Linked DNA regions of Homo sapiens: all the other regions are linked to region 1. The links are contacts of gene promoters, found by promoter capture Hi-C in human tissues and cell types (Jung and others, 2019). All regions are on one chromosome and are shown on one strand. Each heading gives the region's core, a stretch centred on a gene start or on the middle of the fragment in contact. The rest is flanking DNA. Distances are from core to core; before and after follow the strand shown. Region 1 holds the start of FAM78A (family with sequence similarity 78 member A). Region 2 overlaps PRRC2B (proline rich coiled-coil 2B). Region 3 overlaps PRRC2B (proline rich coiled-coil 2B).

What was found. The method cuts DNA at HindIII sites, captures the fragments that hold promoters and counts their contacts. A contact is called where the count stands out against the background at its distance.
Region 2: a contact is called between a fragment that was not itself captured here and the fragment with the promoter of FAM78A in region 1, in 2 of the 25 tissues and cell types used here (bladder and mesenchymal stem cells).
Region 3: a contact is called between a fragment that was not itself captured here and the fragment with the promoter of FAM78A in region 1, in 2 of the 25 tissues and cell types used here (heart left ventricle and thymus).

Annotation. Positions count from the first base shown.
Region 1 is chr9:131,274,802-131,279,062 of GRCh38, reverse strand. It overlaps FAM78A (family with sequence similarity 78 member A), which reads left to right and starts at 2,553. Exons shown (of 2, transcript NM_033387.4): 1 at 2,553-3,206. The coding sequence starts at 2,884. RefSeq lists enhancers at 744-843, 3,024-3,523, 3,684-3,733, 3,764-3,813, 3,226-3,838 and 3 more and a silencer at 1,204-2,383. The HindIII fragment of the contact is 9,704 bases long and covers 1-4,261 here.
Region 2 is chr9:131,455,170-131,459,430 of GRCh38, reverse strand. It overlaps PRRC2B (proline rich coiled-coil 2B), which reads right to left. Exons shown (of 32, transcript NM_013318.4): 11 at 75-267. Among named protein-coding and RNA genes, the nearest start is that of SNORD62A, 28 kb to the left of the region's middle. The HindIII fragment of the contact is 3,387 bases long and covers 324-3,710 here.
Region 3 is chr9:131,408,811-131,413,071 of GRCh38, reverse strand. All of the region lies in intron 1 of PRRC2B (proline rich coiled-coil 2B), which reads right to left. Among named protein-coding and RNA genes, the nearest start is that of PRRC2B, 17 kb to the right of the region's middle. RefSeq lists an enhancer at 3,707-4,207. The HindIII fragment of the contact is 5,892 bases long and covers 1-4,261 here.

The DNA of each region.
Region 1 (4,261 bases), core at 1,304-3,803:
TGGCTGGGTGAGAGGCGGAGGCCACCCTAGCCAGCCACTTCCTGCTCCATGGCTGAGCCGGTGCTGCTGTGAGATGTCCTGGTTGTTAACCCCTCAAAGGAGAGATCCAAGAGTGGCCAGCCCCTCGGTCCCTCCAGCCCTGCCCTCACACACTCAGCGTGCTCCGGCTCTGGGACTGGCTGGAAGCACCTGCCCTGTGCCGGCTGTGGGCACCTGTGGAAGTCAGAGTCATGGGGATGGGGTGGGGACGAAGAGCGTGGCTTTAATGTAGCTGCCAGATGTACTTATGTCACAAATTGCTTGGGCTTTCCCTACGGCTGGCTGGAAGGTAGGGGTGGGGTTCATAGCTCTCCCATGGCTGTACAGCCTCATGCTCCTTTTGAGCCCCTGCACTGGGACCCCTGCGGGGGGACGGGGGGAAGGACCTTGGGCAAATCCCCTAGCCTCTCAGCTCTGGGTGCCTGCTCTGTGAAGTGCACATCATCAGTCTCCCTCCACAGGGAGGCCGATGGTGGCTGAAATGATGCTCTGTACAGCGCTCATCACACAGCCGGGGTCCAACAGGCAGCCAGCAGACCTGCTCGAGGGGACCCACCTCTCCCCAAACTGCTCTCCCCTCCCCGCGACCTTCCCAGCCTTGGAGCCTACAAAGCCCCCGCGCTGTCTCCACCAAGCCACTGTCTCCCTGCGGTCAGGAACCCCAGGGCAAGGGAGCCCTTCTGCGGGTGCTCCGAACCCCAGAAAGCCTCTGGTCCATAGAGTTCAAAGGGCACTGGGAGCAGCCCACCTGGCCCCGAGACAGCAGCGGAACTACACTACCCAGAATTCCCGGGGCTGGCCAAAAAGGAAATGTCGTTTGTTCAAGGAGAGGCTCAGCTCCCCGAGCAGCTGCAGAGACAGGGAGCGAGGGGGAGCGAGGGATTACCAGGGGGAGGGCGGGCTGTGTGCGGGGAGCGAGGGTGGAGAGCCAGGCGGGCGGGGAGGAGGAGGCGGCGCCCGCCCGCCGCCGCCGCCGCCGCCTGCGGACCTGCATCCCCGCGGGGCCGGCGAGCGGGCGGCGGTCCCTGCGTGCGCCGGCTGCGCTCGGCCGGCGGCGGCGGCGAGCGGACGCGGGGGCCGGGCCGGCGCAGGGGCCGAGTTTCTGCAAAGTTTGACCCGGTTGCCTTTCCGATGCTGCAGCAGAGCGAGGCAGCGCGGGGCGCGCCAGGCGGCAGCGGCGCGGCGGCGGGGCTGAGCGGCGACAGCGCGCTCACAATGATCATAAAATAAAGGAGGCGCGCGGGGTGGGGGCGAGAGAGCCCCGAGCCTCAGCCCTCCGCCCCCGGCCGCCCCCCCGAAGCCCCAAGCCGGGAGGAGGGTGGGGGCCGGGGGCGCCCACGCCGGCCCCAGACTCCAGTAGAGCCAAGGGACAGTGCCCGGGGAAGGGGGTGGGGGCGCCCCAAGAACGTGCCCGCGGCCGGGTCAGGGGCGTCCGGAGAGCGGCTGCCCGGGCCAGCGGAGTGGCCCCCGGGGCAGGTGAGTCGGCGGCGCCGCCCGAGTGGGGGCGTGCGCGCCAAAGTTCCCCGGCAGCGGCGAGCGCGCCCGACGCGTGGGGACCCGGGGCTGCTCGCGGCTGGAGAGGGGCGACAGAGGCGCTTGACGCGGCGGAGCGGGGGCACTATGCCCTCCGAGGGCCGAGGGACCCCAGCCGGGAAAGGGGTGCCCGCCGGATCCGACGGCACTGGTGGGTGGCCCTGCGCCCAGGGAGCCGGAGGGACCGGGGTGGGGAAGGGGCACCTGGCGCTGGCGGCGCGGCGGTGGGGACAGAGCAGGGCAAGTGCTCGCCGCCCCCTGCAGCGGCAGCCGCTCGCCCCCCACCCCGCCCGTCCGGGACGGTATCAGCGGAGATGTCACGGGCGGCTATTATTCGCTGGTGCGCGCGGTCGTGCGGCCGCCACTGACGGGGCGGGCGCGGGGGGCGGGGGCCACCGCCTCCGGGGAGACCGCCCAGAGCTGCGCCGTCAGCTCCGCAGCCCGCGCCCAGCGCACACGCGTCGCCGCCCCCGCGCGCCCCCCGCAGCAAAGTTCGGCTTAACTTTGAGGCTGGCCTTGACGCGCTGTCCCTTCCACCTCCCACCAGGTCCTCGGCGGCCGCGGCGAAGCAGGCGGCGGCGGCCGGAGCGCAGCCCCGGGACCCTGCACGGCGGCCGGCAGCGACAGCGGCGAAGGGACGCGGCGCCCCTGCGTGGGGACGTCCGGCCCGCGCCCGCGAGTGGGCGCCGACGGGGACCCGCGCCGCGCTCCCCCGTCACCGGCGAGCGGCCGGAGCCCTGAGCTCGCCTCCTGGAAGCCGCGGGTCGGCGCTCGCCCCGAGGGCGCCGGGACCTCGGCCGGGTGAACACAAACTGCTCTGCAATTGATTCGACCGCGCCGGGCGGGTGCGGGTGCGGGGCCCGGAGGGAGCGCGTGCGGAAGGCCGGAGGGCAGGAAGTCAGGCTTCTGCCGCGAGGGTGGCGCGGCCGCGCGGGGACAGAGCCTTCCTTATTTATGAGTCTGCCGGCGCTCGCCTGCTTCCTCCGAAGACTTCAGGGAGAGTCTGCGAGCTGCCGTCCCCGCGTGTGAGGCACAGAAGGGCTGGATGTCAGAACCGCATAATTATTCATTAAACTACAAACTTTTTTTAACCCAAAGAATATCGGTGATTTTTGTCCACTGCGAGGAGAAGAAGAGAGAGCCCAGGGCTCATGAAATGCAGCAGAATCCTTATTTATAAACAGGCCGCGGTAGTGATATATGCAACCCCAGTCTACTCAGTGAGTTTTCTATCCTATGGATATCGGTCTTGAGAGTTGAGATTGGAGAGCAGCGCCGTCTGTACTGGGTCCTGCAGCCTCTGTCCTTTCAATGCCTGGTTTTTTCTGTGACTGCTGGCCTTCCCTGGAGATCAGAGCGCTCCTGTATGCCATGGGCTGTATTCAGAGCATCGGAGGCAAAGCCAGAGTCTTCCGGGAAGGGATCACGGTGATTGATGTGAAAGCCTCCATCGACCCCGTCCCCACTAGCATCGATGAGTCCTCCAGCGTGGTGCTCCGCTACCGGACACCCCACTTCCGGGCCTCGGCCCAGGTGGTCATGCCGCCCATCCCCAAGAAGGAGACTTGGGTAGTTGGCTGGATCCAGGCGTGCAGCCACATGGAGTTCTACAACCAGTACGGCGAGCAGGGCATGTGAGTACGGCCGAGAGCCAGCTCTGGGAACTGCTAGGGATGGCCGAGCTTGGAGGCCTGGTGGGGGGCCGCGGATAGGGGGAAGGTGGAGATACCATGAAGACAGGACGGAGGCCAGAGGGAAGCTTTAGGCAGGTATGCAGGTGGCCTCATTGGCCCGGTGGCTCCCTGAAAAGTTTGCCTGTGGATCCAGATTGGAGTCACGGTCCTGCAATCTACCCTGCCACTGTTCCCCCCGGGTTCCTGTGTCCTTCCCTGCAAGATGCCGAGAAAGCAGAGAGACATTACTCCCAGTGTTTCCTGGCAGAGCAAGTGTGCCGTCCGCCTGAGGAGTGTCTGTGCCATCAGGGGTCACCAGAGAGGCTGCAGGGCTGCCCTCCAGGCCTCTGGCCCTGTGCGGGCCCATGGCAGACATTCAGGCACTCTGCAACTCCCAGACCGGTGTGTTCAGGGCTTTGCGATTGGGCCTCAATTATCTTTCTGGCTTTTACCAGTGTATGCCAGGAGCTGGGGGAGTGCTTCCCCGTTCCAAACGGCACTGTGTTTGAGAGCACAGTTAGTTTTAGAAGCCCGATTTCTTCACAGTGTATCGCTTTCTGTCTCCAAGGCAGAAGACCGCTTTATGCAGACAAGTCCAGTGTCCCTCTGGCGAGGCCCTAACAGGAACAGCAAAGAGGAGCCTCTCCTCTGCAGCCCCAAAGCCCGGTCTCCAGAGTGTGCCTAGGGTATTGGGGGTCCCGGTGAGGACCCTGGGACCCTGGGGCTCCTTTCCTGGCCTGCTTCCTGACCCCAGAGAAGGCCGTCCCCAGGGTGAAAAGAGCTGCATTTAGGCAGAGTTGGGAGAGTGACTTAATCTGAAGGTTCACCCTAAGACAGGGATGGTGAAAATAGCTGTTTCTGAGCGTAAGGACCCTTTGGAGAGAGCTAGGCAGGCCCCGGCGGGCAGCCCACCCATGCGGCCCCGTGACTGGCCGCTGACACTCCCAGAACCTCTCTCAGTGTCTACCCTGTGGCCCCGTGACTGGCCGCTGACACTCCCAGAGCCTCTCTCAGTG
Region 2 (4,261 bases), core at 768-3,267, 180 kb before region 1:
TAGGACTTCTCAGAAACCCAGCCACCCAACTCAATGAAGTACAAATACACAGGACAGCCAAGGGCCCTTGGTACCTGGTAGTCAGGGCCTGGTGCCCAGCCATGAAGCTTCCTGGGCGGTGGCTGAGGGTCTGGCGCCTTTCGGACCACACGGGACGCACCCACTGCTTCAGCCCAGTCCTTCCCTTCCTCTCGAGTCCGCTTAGCGTCCGCACTGTCTGCAGAGCTCATTGACAACTGCCGCTGCCTCCTAGGGTCCCAACTGTTCCTAGGACAAACCACATTTGATGTTAAGTTTTTGCACTCAGGCCAAGCATTTCTGATCTCACTGGTCAGAGGCCTTGAGAATTCCCAAGTCAGCTGTCCAAATCATTTTCTTCATTAGAATGGACCACCACTCCCACTACTTCCATGTGAATTCCACGGTTCAGCCCCACCATTTATCAAGTCACTCTCATTAAACAGAGCCCCAGGCACGATATGTCACACTATTTCACCGATGCAAAAAAAAGTCCTCATGATCCTCACTTTAAAGCAAGCTTGTCCAACCACATGTGGCCCAGGATGGCCCTGGGCTCTGGATGCAGCGCAACACAAATTCGTAAACTTTCTTAAAACATTATAAGAGGGCCTGGGCGTAGTGGCTCACGCCTGTAATCCTAGCACTTTGGGAGGCTGAGGCGGGCTGATCATTTGAGGTCAGGAGTTCCAGATCAGCCAGGCCAACATGGTGAAACCAAGTCTCTACTAAAAATACAAAAATTAGCCAGGTGTGGTAGCAGGCACCTGTAATCTCAGCTACTAGAGGCTGAGGTGGGAGAAGTGCTTGAACCCCAGAGGTGAAGGTTGCAGTGAGCCAAAATCGCGGCACTACACTCCAGCCTGGGCAACAAACAGAGAGAGACTCCGTCTCAGAAAAAAAAAAAAATAAAAACACATTATGAGGTATTTTTTCGTAACTTTTTCATTTTAGCTTATCAGCTATCGTTAGTGTTAGTGTATTTTATGTGTGGCTCAAGACAACTCTTCCAGTGTGGCCCAGGGAAGCCAAAAGATTGGACACTCTTGATTTAAAAAGTCAGTAGCTGAGTCTCATCAAGGTTAACGGGGCACCCCTCACAGGGAGGAGCTCACAGATTTGAACCAGGACTCCCAGGTGCGTGTCCGTCTCCTTTTGGTACATCTCCCTCCCTATGCTCTGCACAAGCCAGTTGCTCAATAAATGCCCCTCAAAAGAACAAAAGATGACTACTAAACAGTGCCACAATAAAAAGAGCAAGAGGAGACAAGCAGAGCCGACACAGCATGGAAAAGGAGGAGGTGTTCCAAACAGAGCTGCAGGGGTGGCTGGACAAGAAGGGGATGGGTGCCATGCTCGTCTGGACGCCTCACAATGGAAGCAATGGTGCTGGGGCAAAGCATTTGCAAGGGCCCGGTAATACTGCAGATCAGAGAAAAGCGGGAATCAGGGATGGCAGATGTGTGGGCCTGTGTGTCTACCCACACACGTACGTGGCGAGGGAGGGAAGACGAGGCAGGTAACATAGCTTAGGAGATTACAGAGGGGAAAATTACAGAGGGGACAACAATTACAGAGGGGACAACGGTGATTCCTATCTGACTTTGTCAGAAATGGAGACCACAGTAAAGCTGCTGACCTGTCTAAAAGACCTGTGTTTTTAGAAGATGACTATGGGCAGGGTGTCAAGGACGGGCCATGGAGGACAGGCTGAAAGGATGGAGATGAACTGGTGGACCCATGGATGGTCTGGAAAAGGAGGAGGTCCCAGTGGCCCCAGAGAAAATGAAAAGAGGAGACAGAGTCAGGGCAAGTTTTGGGAGCCAATTGTGTATGAGGAAATAAAGATGCCAAATAAGACATGGATGCATGCACTAAGTCTCTACCAGGTCACCAACCAGCTCAGAGAACATGAAGAAAAAGAGCAGGTTTCAGGAGGAGATCGTTCGGGCACTCTGATTTTGAAGTGCCCTTGGTCAAAGTCAGGGGCAAAACTGTCTCCAAAACCAATGTCCAGTTCCTTCAGGGGAATATGCAGTTCCCATCGCCTCAAAGAGACAAGGAACACAGAGTGTCCTACTGCTCCAATCAGTCTCTAAGAGTTTATGTCTTTGCCTTTGATTTTAATTCTTGATCACAGCTCCTTCTGAGCTTAGTGTTCCAGGAACTGACCCATAGGTATGTCCCGACTGCATCCAAAGCTTCAGCTGAAATCAAACAGCATGAAAGGAAATTACAGAATTTCATTTTTTGTGTGTCATCAGAAAAAGAGTAGCAAAGATTATTACCAACTCTTTCCAGAAGATGGGCACTTACTTTAGGAAGCTTTTAAGTAAAGGATGAAATAACAAAGAAAAAGATGACTCACAGATTTGACTAAACAAATATTCAGTTATTGACAAGAAAACAGAGAAAAATATTTGCAAGACCAACAGCAAAGCATTAACATCTAAACAATATAAAACATTACATTTTAACGGAAAGCAGTGATAAATGTGAAGGAAACAGGCATTATACAAAGGAAGCAAAGGAAAAAGTCTTACTTGCTAGTACTCAAAAAATACAAATTATGACAACCATAGGTATGATTGTTATTATTAATTTTTTGAGACAGGGCCTTACTCTGTCACTCAGGCTGGAGTGCAGTGGTGCAATCATGGCTCACTGCAGCCTCGACCTTCTGGATTCCAGTAGTCCTCCCACCTCAGCCTCCTGAGTAGCTAGGACTACAGGTGCACACCACGCCCAACTAATTGTGGGGTATTTTTTTTTTTTGAGGTGGAGTCTCGCTCTGTTGCCCGGGCTGGAGTGCAGTGGCATGTGGCGTGATCTCGGCTCACTGCAAGCTCCGCCTCCCGGGTTCATGCCATTCTCCTGCCTCAGCCTCCCGAGTAGCTGGGACTACAGGCACCTACCACCATGCCCAGCTAGTTTTTTGTATTTTTAGTAGAGACGGGGTTTCACTGTGTTAGCCAGGATGGTCTCGATCTCCTGACCTCGTGATCCGCCCGCCTTGGCCTCCCAAAGTGCTAGGATTACAGGCGTGAGCCACCGTGCCTGGCCATTGTGGGGTATTATTTTAAAAGTGCTACTAACATTATAAAAACTAGAGGGATGAGAGTACAATGCAGTATTTTCTAAAGGAAATTAAACAAAACTAAACTAGTCCAAGGAAATGATCCAAAAAAAAAAAAAAAAAAAGAGACAAAATTAACATGGTCAAATAAATTCAGGAAAGCTGGCATGCATTCTGCTTCTTCACCTCCCCAGTGCACTTAATTTTTTTTTTCTTTTTCCTTTGAGACAGAGTTTTGCTCTGTCGCCCAGGCTGAAGTACAGTGGCACAATCTTGGCTCACTGCAACCTCTGCCTCCTGGGTTCAAGCAATTCTCCTGCCTCAGCCACCCAAGTAGCTGGGATTACAAGCACACGCCACCACACCTGGTTAATTTTTGTACTTTTAGTAGAGACGGGGTTTCACCATCTTGGGCAGGCTGGTCTCAAACTCCTGACCTCAAGAGATCCACCTGCCTCGGCCTCCCAAAGTGCTGGAATTAACAGCACGAGCCGCCGTGCCCGGCCCCCAGTGTACTTTAGCATGTTCAAGGCTCCGAGGAATCTGGAGTAAAGAAAGAAGTTGAGGCCAGGCACAGTGGATCACTTGAGCCCAGGAGTTTGAGACCAAACCTGGGTAACGTGGCAAACCCCATCTCCAGCAGAAAGATAAAAATTAGCTGGGTATGCTGGCGTGCATCTGTGGTCCTAGCTATTTGGGAAGCTGGGGTGGGAGAATCGCTGAGCCCAGGAGATGGAGGTTTTAGTGAGCTGACATCATGCCACCGCACTCCAGCCTGGGTGACAGAGTGAGAGCCTGTCTCAAAAAAAAAAAAAAAAAAAAAAAAGAAGTTGAACCCAGGGAGGTTTCCCAAACTTGCTTGGCCACAGCAGCCTTTTTGGGCACGACAGCCACAAGCAATCCATGAAGACGTGGTCTGCATAACACACCTGGGGACACACTGATGCAGTGGTGAAGAGGCCGACTATGCACAGGACACAGTCACACCTGCAGGCAAACCCTGGCTCCCCTCCTTCACAGCCATCATCAATAGCTGTCACCCTCAAAACAAAGTGGAAACAGCATCTGTCTGCCATTCCAGGTTGCTATGGAAACTGGGAAATGCTCTGGGTACACAACAACACTAAGCAGGGATGCACTCATGCTGATAGGGCAGGAACGGGTCCT
Region 3 (4,261 bases), core at 1,246-3,745, 130 kb before region 1:
TTACAGCTAGCAGATATTTAAGAATGTTAGCACAGGTCTTTAAATAAATTTTGCTTCTAAAAGAAGTTACTATTTATTCCTAATTAGATGAAGAGGAAAATCTTTAAAATGAAACCTCTACTTTACTTTTTACACCTATAATCCCAGCTACTCGGGAGGCTGAGGCTGGAGGATCTCCTGAGCCCAGGAGTTTTAGGCTGCAGTGACCTATAATCGTCTCACTGCACTCCAGCCTGAGCAACAGCAAAACTCCTTCTCAAAAAAAAAAAAAAAAGAGAGAGAGAGAATGCTTTGATTATTCTTGGCCCTTTTGCATTTTCATATAAATTTCAGAATGAGTTTGTCAATTTCTGAAATAAACAGCTAAAACAAAAGAAAAGCTGCTGGGATTTTCACTAGAATTACAGGGAATCCAGCGGTTAATTTGCAAAGAAGCAACATCTTTACAGCGTCAGCAGAGCAAGGATGACCCTCATGTACCTGGTGCCATCACTGAGAGCTGGCAGCTGCCCATGCAGCCACCATATGCTCACCCATGACCCAGTTAACTCCAAACCTAGGTATATACCCAACAGCGTGTGCATGCACGCACGCACGCACGCACATACCCGCACTGTGGCAGCATTGTTTGGAAGAACTATGGAAATGAGCTCAGTCTGTCACATGGATAATTACATCCACATAACCAAAAACCATCCTACAATAAGAACAAATAAACATACACAACTATACAGATGAAACGCACAAAAAAAATGTTGAATCAAAGGAGACAGACACAAAAGAGCAAGCAGCAGAGCAGGGTAGTTTTAAAGGGCCAAGAGGACCACCCACAATGAAAGTACAAACATTAGAACAAACAGAAGCCTGTCCACCTTGGTAGATCAAGCCCATCAAGATAGAGACGGTCAACGTAGATGAGCAAACATGTTCTAAAAGTGACTATATTAGACTTTAAGAAAAATTCAGGCCAGGTACAGTGGCTCACACCTGTAATCCCCACACTCTGAGAGTCCGAAGTGAGAGGATCGCTTGAGGTGAGGAATTTGAGATCAGTCTGGGCAATACAGCAAGACGCCATCTCTACAGAAAAAAAAAAAAAAATTAATTAGCTGGGTGTGGTGGCACATGCCTGGATCCCAGCTACTTGGGAGACTCCCTTGAATCCAGGAGTTTGGGGTTGCAGTAAGCCGTGACTGTGCCACTGCACTCCACCCTGGGTGACAGAACAAGACTCTGTCTGAAAAAAGAAAAGAAAAATCCCAAATTCTGTAAAGTAAAACTGACAACAGTGCAATAAAACAAGACATGATGAAAGTAGAAATAATAACCCCAAGAGCTGGAAAACCTAACACTCTCTACTAAAAAAGTTTTGAATCTAAGTGGAATTCAAAACCACACCTGCAAAATATCTAGAAAATAGTACAAATGAGGCCAGGCGCAGTGGCTCATGCCTGTAATCTCAGCACTTTGGAAGGCCGAGGCGGGCGGATCACGAGGTCAGGAGATCAAGACCATCCTGAACACAGTGAAACCCTGTCTCTACTAAAAATACAAAAAATTAGCCAGGCGTGGTGGCAGGCGCCTGTAGTCCCAGCTACTCGGGAGGCTGAGGCAGGAGAATGGAGTGAACCCGGGAGGTGGAGCTTGCAGTGAGCCGAGATTGCGCCACTGCACTCCAGCCTGGGCAACAGAGCAAGACTCCGTCTCAAAAAAAAAAACAAAACAAAAAACAAAACAAAACAAAAAAACAAACAAAAAAAAGAAAATAGCACAAATGAAAAACAGAACACTGCATAACAAAGCTTTCTTCCCCTGCCGACACAGTCTCGCTCTGTCACCCAGGCTGGAGTACAGTGGCGTGATCTCGGCTCACTGCAATCTCCACCTCCCGGGTTCAGGCGATTCTCCTGCCTCAGCCTCCCAAGTAGCTGGGATTACAGGTGCCTGCCACCACCCCCAGCTAATTCTTTTTATTTTTAGTAGAGATGGGGTTTCACCATGTTGGCCAGGCTGGTCTCCAACTCTTGATCTTAGGTGATCCGCCCTCCTCGGCCTCCCAGAGTGCTGGGATTACTGGCCGTAAGAAAACTTTCAAAGCAAAAATAAATCTGTACTCAGAGGAAATATCCTAAAAACCAAATTCCTAACGAAAAAAAATGAAATATAAATTAAGCATCCAAGTTAAGAAATCAGAAAAAAACCAATGCAAGCAAATGTAAGGGAAAGCAGAAACAATGAAGAAAAAGCCTAAAGAGAGCTAGGGAGTGTAATAAATACATCTGCATAAAATTGCATTTAAGAATAGGAGCTCCTCCAGTCAGGTGAGGTCCACAAGGAAAAAAAGAAAAGAAAAAATGAATAAAATTAGTTCCTTGAACGAAGAAACAAAATAGATAAACCACTCAGAGAAGGGTATTAGTACTTCCATTTTATAGACATGAAGGCTCCGCAAGGTTAAATAACTAGTTCAAGGTCACTATCATCCAGTTAGTGAGTCTAAAAAATCTGAACCTGAACCCGGGGTGATGTGACATCCAGACTTACTTGGGCAGTGTTGGGCACTGGAAGAACGACGCCTGCTGCCATGATTGGGAGGCCCATGCGGTGGGCCCCAGAGAATGGCCCCACCTGCCCACGGTACTCCCTGGCCCTGCCAGCACCCCTGGGGACCTGAGGTGAATGTGAAGTGCAGGCCTGGCCTGCGGTGGGGTGTGAACTGGCGCTGGCACTGTTATCTTTACTCTAATACAGCATCCCACACCCCCAGAGTCTGCACCAGCTCTGGGCTCCTCACCCACAGGGTCTGCCTGGAGCCCCTCTCCTCATCTAGCTCACAGGCAGGCAGGCTTGGGCTGAAGCCTGAAGAGGACTCTGGCTGGAAAGCCCATATGCGGTCTCCAAGTTCCTGCCTACCTCCCGCTTTGAAGATGCGGTTAATTTAGCAAGGGGGGTGGGGAAGAAGATGATTTCAACATATGGTGAGTGATGAACAGTTGGACAGATGTGCTATACAAAGGCCTCCCTCTCTGGCGTCAAAATTTAACAAGGACCTGGCAAATAAAAGAAATACATGAAATACATGGGCTTCTTTCAGTTACTCCTTCCTTTTCCACCTCCAAATAATGGTGAATTAACAAATGAGAAGTACTCTGCAAATGCAACCAAAATCTATGTTCTTTATTGTACAATCTGATTTAGTAGAGAAGAGAAATCGGAGACAGCATTTGTATTGGATTGTTCCTTCTAACCAGATAAACAAAGCAGTTTCTGAGGGCCACTGACACATCAACAGAGACAGACGATTGAACTAGTTAAATTCACAGTAACCACTGGGGCCCAATACCAGGAGCCAGGGTGCACTGGATGGGTCTGCGTGGAATACGAAGCCTGGAGCAGCTCTTACCTCACGGTAAGTTTGATCTGGCACCAGGAAAAGAGCCACCAACACAGCAGCTGCCCCAGCCCAGCCCGGCCCCCACAGGCTCCACTGTACTGAAATGCATGCGAGTTACCTTTGTTATTATCTTTGTAACCAATACATGTTACTAATACACATTCAGTAAGACAAATTCAAAAGATACTAATGTGGCCAGGGAGCAGTGGCTCACACCTATAATCCCAGCACTTTGGGAGGCCGAGATGGGCAGATCACCTGGGGTCAGGCGTTCGAGACCAGCCTGGCCAACCAACATGGTGAAATCCCGTCTCTACTAAAAATACAAAAATTAGCCAGGCGTGGTGGCAGGCACCTGTAAGGTGCGGTGGCTCACGTCTGTAATCCCAGCATTTTGGGAGGCCAAGACGGGCAGATCACCTGAGGTCGGGAGTTCGAGACCAGCCTGACCAACATGGAGAAACCCCATCTCTATTAAAAATACAAAATTAGCCGGGCGTCGTGGCACATGCCTGTAATCTCAGTTACTTGGGAGGCTGAGGCAAGAGAATCGCTTGAACTCAGGAGGTGGAGGTTGCAGTGAGACAAGATCGCGCCATTGCACTCCAGCCTGGGCGACAAGAGCAAAACTCCATCTCAGGAAAAAAAAAAAAAAAAGTGGCTGAGCGCAGTGACTCATGCCTGTAATCCCAGCACTTTGGGAGGCCGAGGGGGGTGGATCACCTGAGGTTGGGAGTTTGAGACCAGCCTGACCAACATGGAGAAACCTCGTCTCTACTGAAAACACAAAATTAGCTGGGTGTGGTGGCACATGCCTGTAATCCCAGCTACTCGGAAGGCTGAGGCAGGAGAATCACTTCAACCCAG